5 separate regions of the Homo sapiens genome follow, and regions 1, 3, 4 and 5 are each linked to region 2. Evidence: promoter capture Hi-C in 16 types of primary human blood cells and fetal thymus (Javierre and others, 2016). All regions are on one chromosome and are shown on one strand. The core of a region is centred on a gene start or on the middle of the fragment in contact, and the rest is flanking DNA. Distances in the headings are between cores, read along the strand shown. Region 1 overlaps PLEKHA7 (pleckstrin homology domain containing A7). Region 2 holds the start of USH1C (USH1 protein network component harmonin). Region 3 overlaps PLEKHA7 (pleckstrin homology domain containing A7). Region 4 overlaps PLEKHA7 (pleckstrin homology domain containing A7). Region 5 overlaps PLEKHA7 (pleckstrin homology domain containing A7).

Region 1 (2,700 bases), core at 54-2,553, 740 kb after region 2:
CACTGTTAGCTCCACCCTCCATTTTCCTGGTCAGATCTGCAAAATAGAGCTCAGTGAGGTGGTTTCCCCTACATTAGGCAAAATAGACTTGGTTCTCCCTGGCCTTATCTTGGCCATGGGAGGGTGCATCTGTGAAAGTCACTCCCCTCAGCCCCTGCATGACTTTTGGCAAGAAAGAAATTGGGGGAAATGGAAAAATGGGATAAGTAAGATTTAGATTCTCAGGAGTCAGTGAGAGACAGGCAGCATATTGCCTACTTTGAGTCAAGTGAGGGATGGGAAATGTAAAATCCCATTGGCCCGCAAGTTTGGGTGACTTTTGTATATTGCTTTATGGTTTCCTTTCTTGTAACTTACACAAGTACAGCCTAGCCTCAGTTATTCAGGGAACAATTAAAAACCCTTGCTGGGAACTAGCCAGGTTCCTTTTTACCTTGGCCAGGTCTTCTTCCCAAATGGTAAAGGGTAAGGAAGGCTGGCCTTACCCACGGGGAAGTGGGCTGCTCAGAGACTTCATTAAACTAAGGCTTGACAATGGTCAAGGGATTTGTTTGTTCCTCTGGGTCTGCCCATCTCACCACCCTGGGCAGGGGGTGATGGGCTTCGTAACTTGTGTTTGTTCCCACGTTCAGTAGTACACCTCTGTCTTATCGGTGGCAAATCTTCCAAGATTCATGCTGATTTTTCACATTCATTTTAGGCAAATATATACTTTTAAAATTGATGATCCTTTAACTTGAACATCTACATTTTCTTTAACTCAAAGGACTTACCAGCATTACTAGAATCATCAAAAGGTTTTGGTTTTTTCCTAAAATGAAATAGGCATAGAAATAGCGAAGTATGGCCCAAGTTTTTGTCCCTCTCATACTATGACCCTACCTGCCACTGCCAAGGACTTCCACACCATCCATTATAGGATGAATTTTCTTTCCTGAGTTCTGATCTCAAACACCATGGTTAAATCTCTTTTAAATTGTTCGCCTCCCAGATGACAGGCCGGGACCTTCTCAAGGATCGAAGTCTGAAGCCTGTGAAGATCGCTGAGAGCGACACTGACGTGAGTGAGCAGAGTGACACGCTGACCCCTCAGCTGCCTCCTGACCCAGACCCCGGGTGAACAGCTTCAGGCAGGGCTTGGATGGTTCTGTAGCCAAAGGCTGTCTGATTGCAATCCCAAGGTCATGTCCTTTTCTCATCACCCCAGGCCCTCTCCACCTGTTCTTGCTTTTAGGTCAAACTGAGCATCTTCTGTGAACAAGACAGGGTCCTCCAGGACTTGGAAGACAAGATACGAGCCCTTAAAGAGAACAAAGTACGTGTCAGTTTTGAATAATCTTGGAATGGGCAGAGGGACATTTTGTCCTGTCTTTCTTGAGACATAGGCTGGACCCTCATGTTAGTATTGAAGAGCAGATGTTAGCTTATTTAAAAAAAAATGCACCAGGTGCGGTGGCTCATGCCTGTAATCTCAGCACTTTGGAAGGCCAAGGCAGGTGGATCATGAGGTCAGGAGTTCGAGACCAGCCTGACCAACATGGTGAAACCCTGTCTCCACTAAAAATACAAAAATTAGCTGGGCATGGTGGTGGGCACCTGTAATCCCAGCTACTCAGGAGGCTGAGGCAGAAGAATTGCTTGAACCCGGGAGGCAGAGGTTGCAGTGAGCCGAGATCACGCCACTGTATTCCAGCCTAGGCAACAGAGGAAGACTTCGTCTCAGGAGGAAAAAAAAAAAAGCCTTTGTGTTTAAATGGTGTTTCTTAGGGGTTTCTATCTTATAGAGACCCTCCTGCCCCCATTCTGCTTTGGCTTACCTCTCCGTGGAGGCCCTGTGAGGTGAGCCTGGGAGAGGAGCTCCACTGGCTTATATGTGATGACCCCAGGTCCCTGAACCCCAGGGAAGCAGGGTTCCTTTGGAGGAAGTGGCTGTAGTCATTACAGGGCAGAGGCCTTTGCTTCCTAAAGCTCCTTGTCTCCTAGGATCTGGGCTATGGAGGCAGCAAGTCTGGATGGGAGTGCCGGAATGGGCCAGGGGCCACCAACATTTGGCCTTTTCTATTCTTAAAGTATTTTTTTCCTTTTGCATTTTAAATTCGTGATGCTGGAGGTTGACAATATACTCTTTTCCCTAGGAGGCTAAAGAGGTTTTTGTTTTTTGTTTTTTTAATTCTTTGATTTATCCTCTTAGCTTAGTTTATTCTCTTAGTTTATCCCATAAGGAGTTAGACAGCTGTATCCCTAGTTTATAGATGACAAAATTGAGGCACAGAGCTGTTAGGTACTTTCCCCAGCCTACTCCCTAGACAGAGTCAGAGCTGGCATCAGAGCCCCGACTGTGGGCCCACATCTCAGCGCTGATCCCTTCGGCCTTGGTTAGGTCCAGTAGCTTTGGTTCCTGGTGTGGTATGGGGAGGCCTCTGGGGACTGTCCTCCTATCCTGCTGTTTTTTGGCCCTTCGTGGTGCAGGACCAGCTAGAATCTGTGCTGGAGGTGTTGCACAGACAGATGGAGCAGTACCGAGACCAGCCCCAGCACTTGGAGAAGATTGCCTACCAGCAGAAGTTGCTGCAGGAGGACCTTGTCCATATCCGAGCTGAGCTCTCCAGAGAGTCCACTGTGCGTAGAGGGTGGCAGACCTGTCTCCCTCAGGACGGGCTGAGCAAGGGGCTGCTTTTCTCCCCTCCCAAGATGTAGTTG
Region 2 (2,700 bases), core at 109-2,608:
AGGGACGCAGAGGGGTGTTTAGGTGCCCCAGAGTTACAATTGTAAGTGGTTACCTGATGTAAGCTGCTGTCCATCTCCTTGCCCCTGCCCTTGACAGGGCACAAAGGGCTCAGGTGCCTCCCTGGGTTAAGTTCAGGCACAAGCCCCATACTTAGCCTCTGATTTACACATTTTTATCACCCCTCTCCTAGCCCCTCTTTCCTTTCATCTCTTTCCAGGCCTGGTTCATCATTGTCTTTGATGAATCTTTCCTTTCATTCCTTTCCAGGCCTGGTTCATCATTGTCTTTGCACCAAGCACTAGACCTAGGAGTTAAGCAAATGCTGACCAAATTGAATTAAATGAACCAGAGGGTCTGGGCCCTGGGTGAAGGTCAGCCATAGATCAAAATGTCACTGCCAGGCTCTGCCAGGCTTCGATGGATATGTGAGTGTGTTGGGTTTGGGTTTTGTTTTGTCTTGTTTTGTTGGGGGTGGAGGTGTTAGGGAAGGTGGGAGGGGAAATCAGTTGAGGGGGGCACTCTCACACACACTGATTCAGACCCCTGCGGCCCACAGTAAAACCCAGCCCTGTCCCCAAGGAATTCACAGAACAAGGATTGATTTCTCCCTGGTGGAAAAGTGCAGGAGGAAGCCAGGACTGAAGGTACGCTGGAGGTGAGGGCGTAGCAAGGGCTGACAGTCCAGGAGGGCCATGAACCTCGACAAGAGTATCCAGAGAAGGCCGGGCGCGGTGGCCCGCGCCTGTAATCCCAGCACTTTGGGAGGCCGAGGTGGGCAGATCACGAGGTCAGGAGATCGAGACCTTCCTGGCGAACACGGTGAAACCCCGTCTCTACTAAAAATACAAAAAAAAAAAATTAGCCGGGCGTGGTGGCGGGCGCCTGTAGTCCCAGCTACTCGGGAGGCTGAGGCAGGAGAATGGCGTGAACCCGGGAGGCGGAGCTTGCAGTGAGCCAAGATCATGCCACTGCACTGTAGCCTGGGCGACAGAGCGAGACTCCGTCTCGGGGGGGAAAAAAAAAGAATATCCAGAGAAAACGGACTAGATTGCCCCGCCCCCCGCCCGTGTAAATAGTTTCCGTATCTCTCTATTCCGGTCCCCACAAAAAAGTCCCAAACCTCCTCCCTACGTCTCCACGATCTTCTTCCTCAAACGCATGTGTTCAGGTACCACTTCCAGAGAAATACCAGCTTGAAGCCCAGCTACTGCCACCTCAGGCCCATAGGCACACTGGGGCCCATTTGCTCCCAGGCTTCAGTGGGAGGCGACGACTCAGCACCTTCGACTCCAGCCTCGCAGCGGCCCCGCCCCACAGAGGCCTGGCCCCGCCCCTCCGCGCTCAGGCCCCGCCCCCAGCTCCGAGGGCGGCTGGCCCGGTCGCGGTCGCGGCTCTTTCCAGCTCCTGGCAGCCGGGCACCCGAAGGAACGGGTCGTGCAACGACGCAGCTGGACCTGGCCCAGCCATGGACCGAAAAGTGGCCCGAGAATTCCGGCATAAGGTCAGAGCTGCAGGGCGCCCCAGGCTTCTGGGACTCCGGAGTCCTGGGCGCGGTGGGTAGGGGGTGGACACCCCGGCACTGCCCCTCCCTTTTCCGGCCCCACCTGATGGCTCTGGTTGGGCTGGGACACCCGAGGGTCGTCTGGCTGGCAGCAGGGATCCCCAGTAAAGTGAGGGAGGGAATGCGGGGACTCCCGGCTCAAGGACTGCTAAACGAGTCGATCTTCTGCCAGCCTTTCTCCCTCTGCCTTCCAGGGGCAGGGACGTCTCTGGGGTTTGAATTCCTTCCAGTCTTGGCCGCTTTTCTGAGGTGCCCCCTTTGTGGGCAAGCCCCTCTCCTTCCTAGTGCCCCCAGCTCAGGGCTGTTGAGGCATGTGGAGACAGTCTGGGGCAGTATCTGAGAGGTGAGGGTTGGGAGAAGGGAAACTAGACGTCTCTCTCTCTGCCTTTTGACCTCAGAACATGAGTTAGAAGCATTTCAGCCCTGCCTGCCTAAGGGCGTTTCTTAGGGTCTGAGAAGTAGCTGAGGAGCTGGTGCTGACCCGGGTGCGGTGGGGAGGAAGGGAGGAGGTACTGAGGGCGTCGGAGCTGGGCTCTGGCCGGCCAGATCCTTCAGGCAGAGCCGGGTCCACCCTGGTGTGTCCCAGTGAGGGGCCTCACTGGTGGTCTGGGATTCTCAAGGACCATCTCTGGAAGTGGCCAGGTTTCACACAGGGCATTTCGAGAATGATTCACAAAGCTGTGCAGAATCTGCTGAGGCCCTGAGACCAGAGAGGGCCATCAAAGAGATCCAGCCTACTTCCCCACCAAGTCTTAGGATGCCTCTGAGTCTGGGGATGAAGCCGCTTGGGGGGGGTGGGTGGTATCTGGAGCTCCCCACAGGCCCTGCCTGAGGGGCAGGTAACTATTGATAACTTAACTATTGATAACTGTGTGACCCAAGGCTCTCCCAAAGACCCCAGGGGCAGTGTCTTTAGACCAAGCCAAACCTCTTCCTGGTTTGAGAGCTGAGCTCAGGTAGGGCAGGTCAGGGTGCTTAACTCCTTCCTTCCCATAAAGAGGCCCATAGGAGCCCAAGGAGCTAGCCAGTGTAGGGGCCACAGGGGCTTGGGGCCAAGGGCCCGGGGTCAGTTATTCATTTAATAAGCATGTTTTGAGCATCCTCTCAGCCATACCCAGTCTGTGCCCTTTGCTGGTGG
Region 3 (2,700 bases), core at 92-2,591, 710 kb after region 2:
CTGACTGCCATTCGCTCTGCCACCCTCTAAAGCTTTGTTTTGCAATAAATGCTGGTATTAATTTAAAGAAAATGATTTATCATCCTCTGTCAAATTTATTTCCAGGAAGCACTGGCATATATGGAAGTGTATATACTCATGTACATACATAGTAAGGACTAAGAATTATGGTTAAATTAGCTCCAAGCTTAGGGAAGACTAACAGACTCCATGATTTGAGGGTCAGGTGTTTATGGGAACAGTATTCAATGTGGTTACCATAATTAAGTTGGGCTCCAGGGTTGTCTGACTTTGAAGGCAAAGGCTATTTTCTTTGCTACTCTCTTATAGTCCCAGGTGCCTGTCCCAGTGGGGGCTGTATAGGTGCTTGGTAAATACATGGTGAATGGTTAGGGAAGGAAGAAAAATCCACATTACAATTGGTTGGACTGAGACATTGTGCCCACAATCTTTGGGTCCCAGAGTTGAAGAATCCTTCATTTCCTCTCAATTCTAATGTCATACACATAGGTGGCATATTTGTTTCACTGTCTGGCTTTTATGACAAGGTGCTCTTTATCTTTGGAGTGTGAATAACAAGGAGATACAATTACCTGGGTATCACAATTGGAGTAACCACTTAGAAATATCAGAGCAAGTGAAACCAAAGCAGCATGCAAGATTCTAAATCTTCAGCGACTTGGCCAGGGTGTGATCCAGAGGGCAGCTGGAGCCTTCATCATCTCCGAAGTAGCCTCAGCACATCCTCTATGGGTAGTTTCCTGGATGTGAGAAATAATAAAGAAAATAGGCCTGGCACAGTGGTTGGTGCCTGTAATCCCAGCACTTCTGGAAGCTGAGGTGGGAGGATTGCTTGAGCTCAGGATTTCAAGACTAGCCTGGGCAACAAAGAAAGACCTTGTCTCTACAAAAAAAAAAAATTAAAAATTAGCCAGACATGGTGGCAGGCGCCTGTGGTACCAGTTACACAGGAGTCAGAAGTGGAAGGATCACTTGATCCCAGGAGGTTGAGGCTGCGGTGAGCTCTGTTCACGCTAGTGCATTCCAGCCTTGGTGACGGAGTGGGACCCTGTATCAGAAAAAGAAAAAAAAAAAGAATGGCCAACTTAGGCAACTTGAGGACTGTTGGTTCAGTTTACACTAATCTAGTTATGGAGGCTTAAAGGGAGAAAGGAAAGACAAAGCTAAAACCTATCGTGTGAAAAAAAGAAAAAAGAAAAAAGAAACCTGTCATATGTACATTGTGGAACAGAGTTGTCCCTTTATAAACTTACGGTAAGAATTACTTTTTCTTTTTTGAGGCGGAGTCTTGCTCTGTTGCCCAGGCTGGAGCACAGTGGTGCAATCTCAGCTACTGCAACCTGTGCCTCCCAGGTTCAAGCGATTCTCCTGCCTCAGCCTCCTGAGTAGCTGGGGCTACAGGTGCACACCACCATGCCCAGCTAATTTTTGTATTTTTAGTAGAGATGGGGTTTCACCATGTTGGTCGGGCTGGTCTTGAACCCCTGACCTCAGGTGATTCACCTCCCTTGGCACGCCACTGCACCCGGCTGAATTACTTTTTCTGTAAGTATGGGCTCCTGAATATTTCCCGTATTTTCCTCCTACTGGAATTTATAGAGCCACTGAATGTTAACAATGAATGGGCCCTCACTCATTACTATCTCAATATGTCATTGTGAAATGATTAATAGGCAGGACCCCTTTCAGTATAAGTAGCAGAAACCAAACTCTAACAACTGAAAAAGGGAATTTAGGCCCCCGGCAGGGTGGCTCACGCTTGTAATCATAAAACTTTGGGGGGCTGAGGCAGGTGGATCACTTGAACCCAGGAGTTTGAGACCAGCCTGGGCAACATAGCAAGACCCAGTCTCTACAGATTTTTTTTTTTTTTAATTAGCAGAGCTAATTAAAACATGCATGCACCTGTAGTCCCAGCTACTCAGGAGGCTGAGGTGGGAGGATCACTTGAGCCCAGCAGATCAAGGCTGCAGTGAGCCGTGATCATTGCCACCGCACTCCAGCCTGGGTGAGAGAGCAAGACGCTGTGAAAAAAAAAAGAAGGAATTTATTTATTCACAACCAGAAAATCCAAAGAGATATCTGGTTTACATATGGTTAGATGTAGGAGCTTAAGCCAAGTTTTTAGGATTCTATGTTTCTCCATCTGCTTTCCTTTGTGTTAACTTCATTCTCAAGTAGTGCCTTCCCACATAGTTGCAGCAGCTCCAACCCAAGTCCCAGGGCTAACTCTGATTGGCCTGGAGTAGTCAACTCCTGAACCAGTCACTGAGACTGTGGAGCCTCAGCTGGACAGGGAGTCAGCAGCACCTGAACCACCTGGACTGAGGGTAGGAGAAAGTGATTCCCAAATGAAAATTGAAATGCTGTTATCAGAAGGGCAGTGGATACAGTGTGGGGGTTGGAGAGGAAAGATGTCCTCTGTTGGATAAAAGGAGTTCCAAAGATGCATTATTTTTTTCCACAAAGCTTGGGGTTTCCATGGAAAAGACATTGGTACGTGAACAGCGAGAAGAATGCTTGCTTTTCTCAGTTCTCTCTGTATATTAGTCCATTCTCACACTGCTATAAAGAACTGCCTGAGAATGGGTAATTTATAAAGGAAAGAGGTTTAATTGACTCACAGTTCCACATGGCTGGGGAGGCCTCAAGAAACTTACAATCATGGTGGAAGGGAAA
Region 4 (2,700 bases), core at 146-2,645, 760 kb after region 2:
GAGAGAGAAGATGGCCTGGGATAGATAAGCATCTGCTTTGGTTTTGCTCAGGGGAAGAGAGGCTTTGAGCCTGCTCTGTTCTCAACAACCTGCTCAGCGGTCAAAGGCCTGTGAGGATGCAGGTCCTGGGTCAACAGGAAGTCACCACGGAGCTGGACAGTCATGGTTGGATCTTATCGGTTAGATTTTCCCTCTTGGGAAGCTTGTTACAAAGTTGATACTGTGAAACAGCCTTAGAAACATTCCATTTGATTTAGCATTTCAATTTTATATGATTTAGTTTTTTTTTCTAATTTAAAGAAAACATCTATCTCAAATAGATGGGTCTCATACAGCAGTTTTTCTGCCTCATTGGCTCCAAGCTGCTTTTGCTTGTACCTCCCCAGCCCTACTGTAAGTGCGAGATCCCCCACCTACGAATGTTATCTTGTTGAAAATTCCCAATAGAAAGATCCTTGGTTATTCTTCTTGCTTAGCAGGGCCTTGAAGGGCGTGTTTTTCCATTAATTCTGAGCCTGGGACGTATGTCTCCTGAACCAGCTGTAGAGAGTGGAAGGGACAAATCCCTTCTCTAGAACTCTGTCCCAAGTTGTTTGGAGGTCACCCTCTCTGGGAGCCTTCTATTTCCCTGGGGACCACTGTGAGCCTGAAGTCATGAGTCTTAGACCTGTGCCCCAAGGGTGTATGTTTGAAACCTCTGGGAACCCAGATCAGAGAGCACTTAGCAGTCTGGAACAGCCCATATGAAGGGGACAGCAGCTTCATTCTCTATTGCACATACAGCTTTTCCCTAAGGGGATCACAGGTTCATCTTCCAAAGGACCCCATGGAAAAAGGTGACCAGCCGGGCTCTTTCAGCAATCAGGAAGCGACTACGTTTAACCTCTTGTTCTGTTGCCAGTGGAAGCGTGAGCAGGACTTTGACCTGCAGTTGCTGGAACGGGTCGTGCAAGGGGAAAAAAAGGACAAGGAGGAGAATGGCTGGTTGAAAGTGCAGGCCATGCCTGTCACTGAGTTGGACCTGGAGCCTCAAGACTATGACTTGGACATCAGCAGAGAGGTGAGGGCAGGCACTTCCTTCATGTCCTCCAGGAGACATGGCCTTCAAGTTCCCAGCCTGATCCACCTTCCCACTGTGGGGTATCATCCTGAACAGGGACATGGCTCAGCTTCAGTGTGGCCTAGGAGGATGGATGGATAGCAGCTTAAGGCAATGAAAGGAGGCCAGATGTTTCGATGAAGGTTCAAAACTCTCTGTAATTTAGGGCAAATTGCAATTTTAGCTTCTCTGTGCTTCAGTTTCCTCAACAGTGAAGTGGGTTGTGAAGAGGATTAAGTAACTGCACATGTTCTTGGGAGGTTTAGCGATCAAAGCCACATAGTAGGCACGTGAGCAGCAGTTGTTATTGTTAGGAAATGTTCCCTGCAACACCAGGGGTTGGCTTTTCAACTGGCTGGTGAGGCCAACTTGGGCAGTCTGACTAGGGGAAAATGGGGGGCAGGTTTGAAAATCACAGGCGAAATTTCCAGCCATGGTAGAAGCTAGGAGACAGTGCAGAGTTCTGGTCTGAATTCTTCTGGTGCCCTCTGGTGGCTCACATGCATCATGACAGGGCAGGCCCAGGAGAGCAAGTAACTCCTGGATCTCTACCCATCAGGAAATGTCTCTACCCAAGGGGAGAGAAAGGGAACTCGGGATGACACACTCAGTGTCTTCAAGACGTAGATTGTCTCCTGTGGCCTATGTCGATGCTATTCCTAAGCTCTTCAGGGCAGCGTCTATGGCTGCTTGGTTCACCTTTGTATCCCTAGTCCCTGGCACAGGGCCTGGCACACAGTGGGTACGTGGTACATCTTTGCTGCATCTTTGACTGTGTTGAATGAATCACACAGTGACCCATAAATGTACCAAAAGCATTTGTACAAGGACTTGGCCTGCCTGGAAACTGCACAAGAGGAAATGTTCTCACCACATGAAGGATGGATCGAGGCGAGACCTCAATAAAACTTTCCCCCAGGTCTGTGTGATAGGAGAGTGAGAACTGAGGAGGACCTGTGTCTTCCAGAGCCTTCCTGCTGTCTTAAGAGGTGGTGCCAGGCCCATTCACAAGCTGATTTGCCAATGGTATCTACCTGACTCAGTATGTTAGGGGTTCCTCTGGTCTTTGGGAACAAAGGAACAGTGTGTGGATAAGATAGATGCCTGTACAGTTGTTGAGTTTTGGGGTCTGCTGGGGCTCTAGGAGTTAACAAGGCTGGTCCCCTGCCCCAAGACCTTGTTCCTTTGCCATCTGAAACAGCCAAAGGTCTGTGCGTTCTCAGATTCACAAAAGAAGCCCCAACATGCTGCCTTGGCAGGGGAAGTGTGTTCTGTAGTGTCCTGATTGCCTGCCAGCCCAGGGAAAAAGTTCTTCCTTATCTCTAACCTAAATTCCTCCTGCTACAATGTAATCTGCTTCCTTCCTCTAAATCTGTCCTCATTGGAGTAACAGAGAAGAGCTTATTTCTTGCCATCTCCAACAGAGTGAAAGGGCTGCGTGTGGGTTTAAATCCATGACCTGATTTGCCCTGGGATTGGATTAAGCTTGTTTTTAGGAGCTTCAACCCACCCCATTTTAGTGTGCTTTTGTAATTCAGGGAGGAAAAAGTTCCTGGAGCATGCAGAAGCTTCCTTTCGTGTTCTTAGTCCAAGCAAGGTTT
Region 5 (2,700 bases), core at 53-2,552, 590 kb after region 2:
GTGGACTTATTTGATTAACGCAAACACCTAACTGAACCTCTACTGGGTGCCAGGCACTATACTAAATGCTGGGGAATAAAAAATGAGTAGGTCATGGTCCTTTAAGCCCAGTTCAGTGGGACAAACAGGTAAGTAAACAACCATAAGGCAACAAGTATCTTCATGAGTATTTGTATAGAACACTTTAGGGACACAGGGGCAGTTTATTCCATGGGATACAGAAAAGGGAATGCTCAATAGGAAGCAATATTTGAACTGGGCCTTGAAGGATAAGTAGGAAGTTGCCATGTTGATGGGTAGCAGAGGAATACTCCAGGAAAAACCATTCATTCATTCAGCAAGTCTCTCCTGTTAGCCTGCTGCAGCCTAAGCATCAGGGTTCATTGGGGGTTTCAGTTTTCTTCTTTGTATTCTCTAGGGCGCCTAGCATAGTGCTTTGCGTTCAACAGTTGTTTGGGAATTATTTGAGTAAATAAAAAATCCATCTGATAAGGGAATTAAAAATTACTCTGACATTTGCAAAAACTGTTTCAAATGAAACAGTATATGTGAAAATAAAGCATGAGGCCAGGCATGGTGGCTCATGCCTGTAATCCCAGCACTTTGGGAGGCTGAGGCGGGCGGATCACGAGGTCAGGAGTTTGAGACCAGCCTGGCCAACATAGTGAAACCCCGTCTCTAATAAAAATACAAAAAATTAGCCGGGTGTGGTGGCGGGTGCCTGCAATCCCAGCTACTCCGGAGGCTGAAGCAGGAGAATTGCTTGAACCTGGGAGGCGGAGGTTGCAGTGAGCCGAGATTGCGCCATTGCACTCCAGCCTGGGTGACAGAGCGAGACTCTGTCTCAAAAAAAAAAAAAGAAAACATGAGACAACTGTAAAGTATGTCGTTAATATTTAACTTTCTTGTTGTTTTATTTTGCTATCTTCCAAAGAAATTTATTTGAATAATTTCTGTGACCTTTCAAATAACTAACAGCATCCAGCATCCTATCTTATTAGTTTTTGTTTTTTTTTTTTTAAAGACAGAGTCTTGCTCTGTTGCCCGGGCTGGAGTGTGTTGGTGTGATCATAGATCACTATAACCTTGAACTCCTGGGCTCAAGCAGTCCTCCTGTCTCAACCTCCTGAGTAACTGAGACTATAGGTGTGCACTACCACACATGGCTAATTTAAATTTTTGTTGTTGTTGTTGTTGTTTTTGTAGAGATGGAGTCTCACAGTGTTGCCAGGGCTGGTCTTGAACTCTTGGCCTCAAGTAGTCCTCCTGCCTCAGCCTCCCAAAGTGCTGAGATTACAGGTGTGAGCCACTGTGCCTGGCCATTATTGGTTCTTTATTGTTTGCTCCAATAGTGCTGGATAAGAAAACATTTATAGTGATATTTTTATTTTATCTTATTTTTTGGCTATTGTTTAACAAAATATGTAAGGCCAGAAACCCTACAAATCCCTCTTGCCTTGTGGAGTGTCCTCTATCTTTGCATTGTTTGCTTCTCAACCAGTGAAGCCCTGAAATTTCCATATGACTCCCCAACTAATTGTAGCTTCCTGTGTGTGTGAGGGGTCTGTTTCTGAACTTTATATAAGTTTCTGTTCAGTCAGCCAACTTTCTAATCATGATAAAGGGCAAATTATTGTTTTATAAACCTTGTGCCATTTGTCACATTCCTGTCTTACCAGTTTCTTAAGGGAGAGGTGAAAGAAACCCATAAGCACCCTCTAAATCTGCTTTGCATTTTCCTGCACAGTGAAGAATAGACTTTTCATATGTTTGAACAGAAAAATAAACACAAACTAGAAAAACACTGCCCTTTCCAGTCAACCAAGTATACTTACCTTTAGGAGGCAGTGAAAGTGGTGCCCTTAAATACAGAATTATTTATTCAAATATTAAGAATTAATAAATAAAGGGCTCTAATATAAACTTTGTGTAAGTTTTTCTGTGTATTTCAGTGCAAAAAAATATGTAGAGCATAAAATGAAATCTACCTGTCAAGCATGTGATCCAGAATCTTGGTTTTATTACTATTCTGGAAAGCCCCGGTCCTTATCATTTGGTTTAGCTTATTTAATCTTTTAAATTGGAAATAGTGTACAAAATTGTTCTTATTGTGTTCATTTTCTTTTGGCACAAGATCTTAGGACTTTAAGTCTTACAGATTATAGTCACTGTAGGATTCACAAAAGAACTTTCTTATAACTTTCTTTGGATTCTTCATACTCATTTAAAATTTCTTATGTTCGTTTGGTTAATCAGTACAAGGCATTTTGCTGATTACTGTGAAAAAGACCAAGGTTTAAGACTGGTCTCTGAGATTGTAATCCAATAGGAACTAATAGTATCCTCACCATGCCTTTACCTTTGCTGTTTCCTGTGTCTACAGTGTCCTTTCATTGTCCCTTCCTGTGCATCTGGCAACTTAATCCTTAGCCTTTAAGGCATAGCTCAAACTTCACTGCCTCCATGAAACTTTTCTTTGACCTCCCTGTGTCATTTAGGGCAAGGGTTCCCCAAATCTTGGGCTGACCCCTTGGTGGGGAACCTCAGAATTATTGTAGTGTCAGTTGTCAAAAAAATACTATTTTCAAATATATGTAGATGCCATTGTGAAAAAGCAAATTAAAAATTTTTTAAATTTAGTTAATTCATGAAAAAGCTTTGTTGGATACATAGAGGCTTTGTTCTCTTGTGTTTTTAAAG

Evidence for each region. Contacts are between HindIII fragments. The CHiCAGO score rates a contact against its expected background, and 5 or more counts as called.
Region 1: a fragment that was not itself captured here is called in contact with the fragment with the promoter of USH1C in region 2 in 2 of 17 cell types (naive CD8 T cells and total CD8 T cells); the score reaches 6.5 in naive CD8 T cells.
Region 3: a contact is called between a fragment that was not itself captured here and the fragment with the promoter of USH1C in region 2, in 4 of 17 cell types (naive CD8 T cells, total CD8 T cells, activated CD4 T cells and 1 more). The highest score is 6.4, in naive CD8 T cells.
Region 4: a contact is called between a fragment that was not itself captured here and the fragment with the promoter of USH1C in region 2, in 3 of 17 cell types (naive CD4 T cells, naive CD8 T cells and activated CD4 T cells). The highest score is 5.6, in naive CD4 T cells.
Region 5: a fragment that was not itself captured here is called in contact with the fragment with the promoter of USH1C in region 2 in 1 of 17 cell types (M0 macrophages); the score reaches 5.4 in M0 macrophages.

The regions. Positions count from the first base shown.
Region 1 is chr11:16,801,587-16,804,286 of GRCh38, reverse strand. It overlaps PLEKHA7 (pleckstrin homology domain containing A7), which reads left to right. Exons shown (of 27, transcript NM_001329630.2): 14 at 992-1,060; 15 at 1,235-1,315; 16 at 2,470-2,619. Among named protein-coding and RNA genes, the nearest start is that of C11orf58, 64 kb to the right of the region's middle. RefSeq lists an enhancer at 938-2,137. The HindIII fragment of the contact is 4,430 bases long and covers 1-2,700 here.
Region 2 is chr11:17,543,074-17,545,773 of GRCh38, reverse strand. USH1C (USH1 protein network component harmonin) reads left to right here and starts at 1,358. Exons shown (of 27, transcript NM_153676.4): 1 at 1,358-1,502. The coding sequence starts at 1,467. The HindIII fragment of the contact is 3,207 bases long and covers 1-2,700 here.
Region 3 is chr11:16,828,373-16,831,072 of GRCh38, reverse strand. All of the region lies in intron 9 of PLEKHA7 (pleckstrin homology domain containing A7), which reads left to right. Among named protein-coding and RNA genes, the nearest start is that of C11orf58, 91 kb to the right of the region's middle. The HindIII fragment of the contact is 2,303 bases long and covers 190-2,492 here.
Region 4 is chr11:16,784,589-16,787,288 of GRCh38, reverse strand. It overlaps PLEKHA7 (pleckstrin homology domain containing A7), which reads left to right. Exons shown (of 27, transcript NM_001329630.2): 24 at 902-1,060. Among named protein-coding and RNA genes, the nearest start is that of C11orf58, 47 kb to the right of the region's middle. The HindIII fragment of the contact is 2,382 bases long and covers 205-2,586 here.
Region 5 is chr11:16,952,855-16,955,554 of GRCh38, reverse strand. All of the region lies in intron 3 of PLEKHA7 (pleckstrin homology domain containing A7), which reads left to right. Among named protein-coding and RNA genes, the nearest start is that of SNORD147, 28 kb to the right of the region's middle. The HindIII fragment of the contact is 2,712 bases long and covers 1-2,658 here.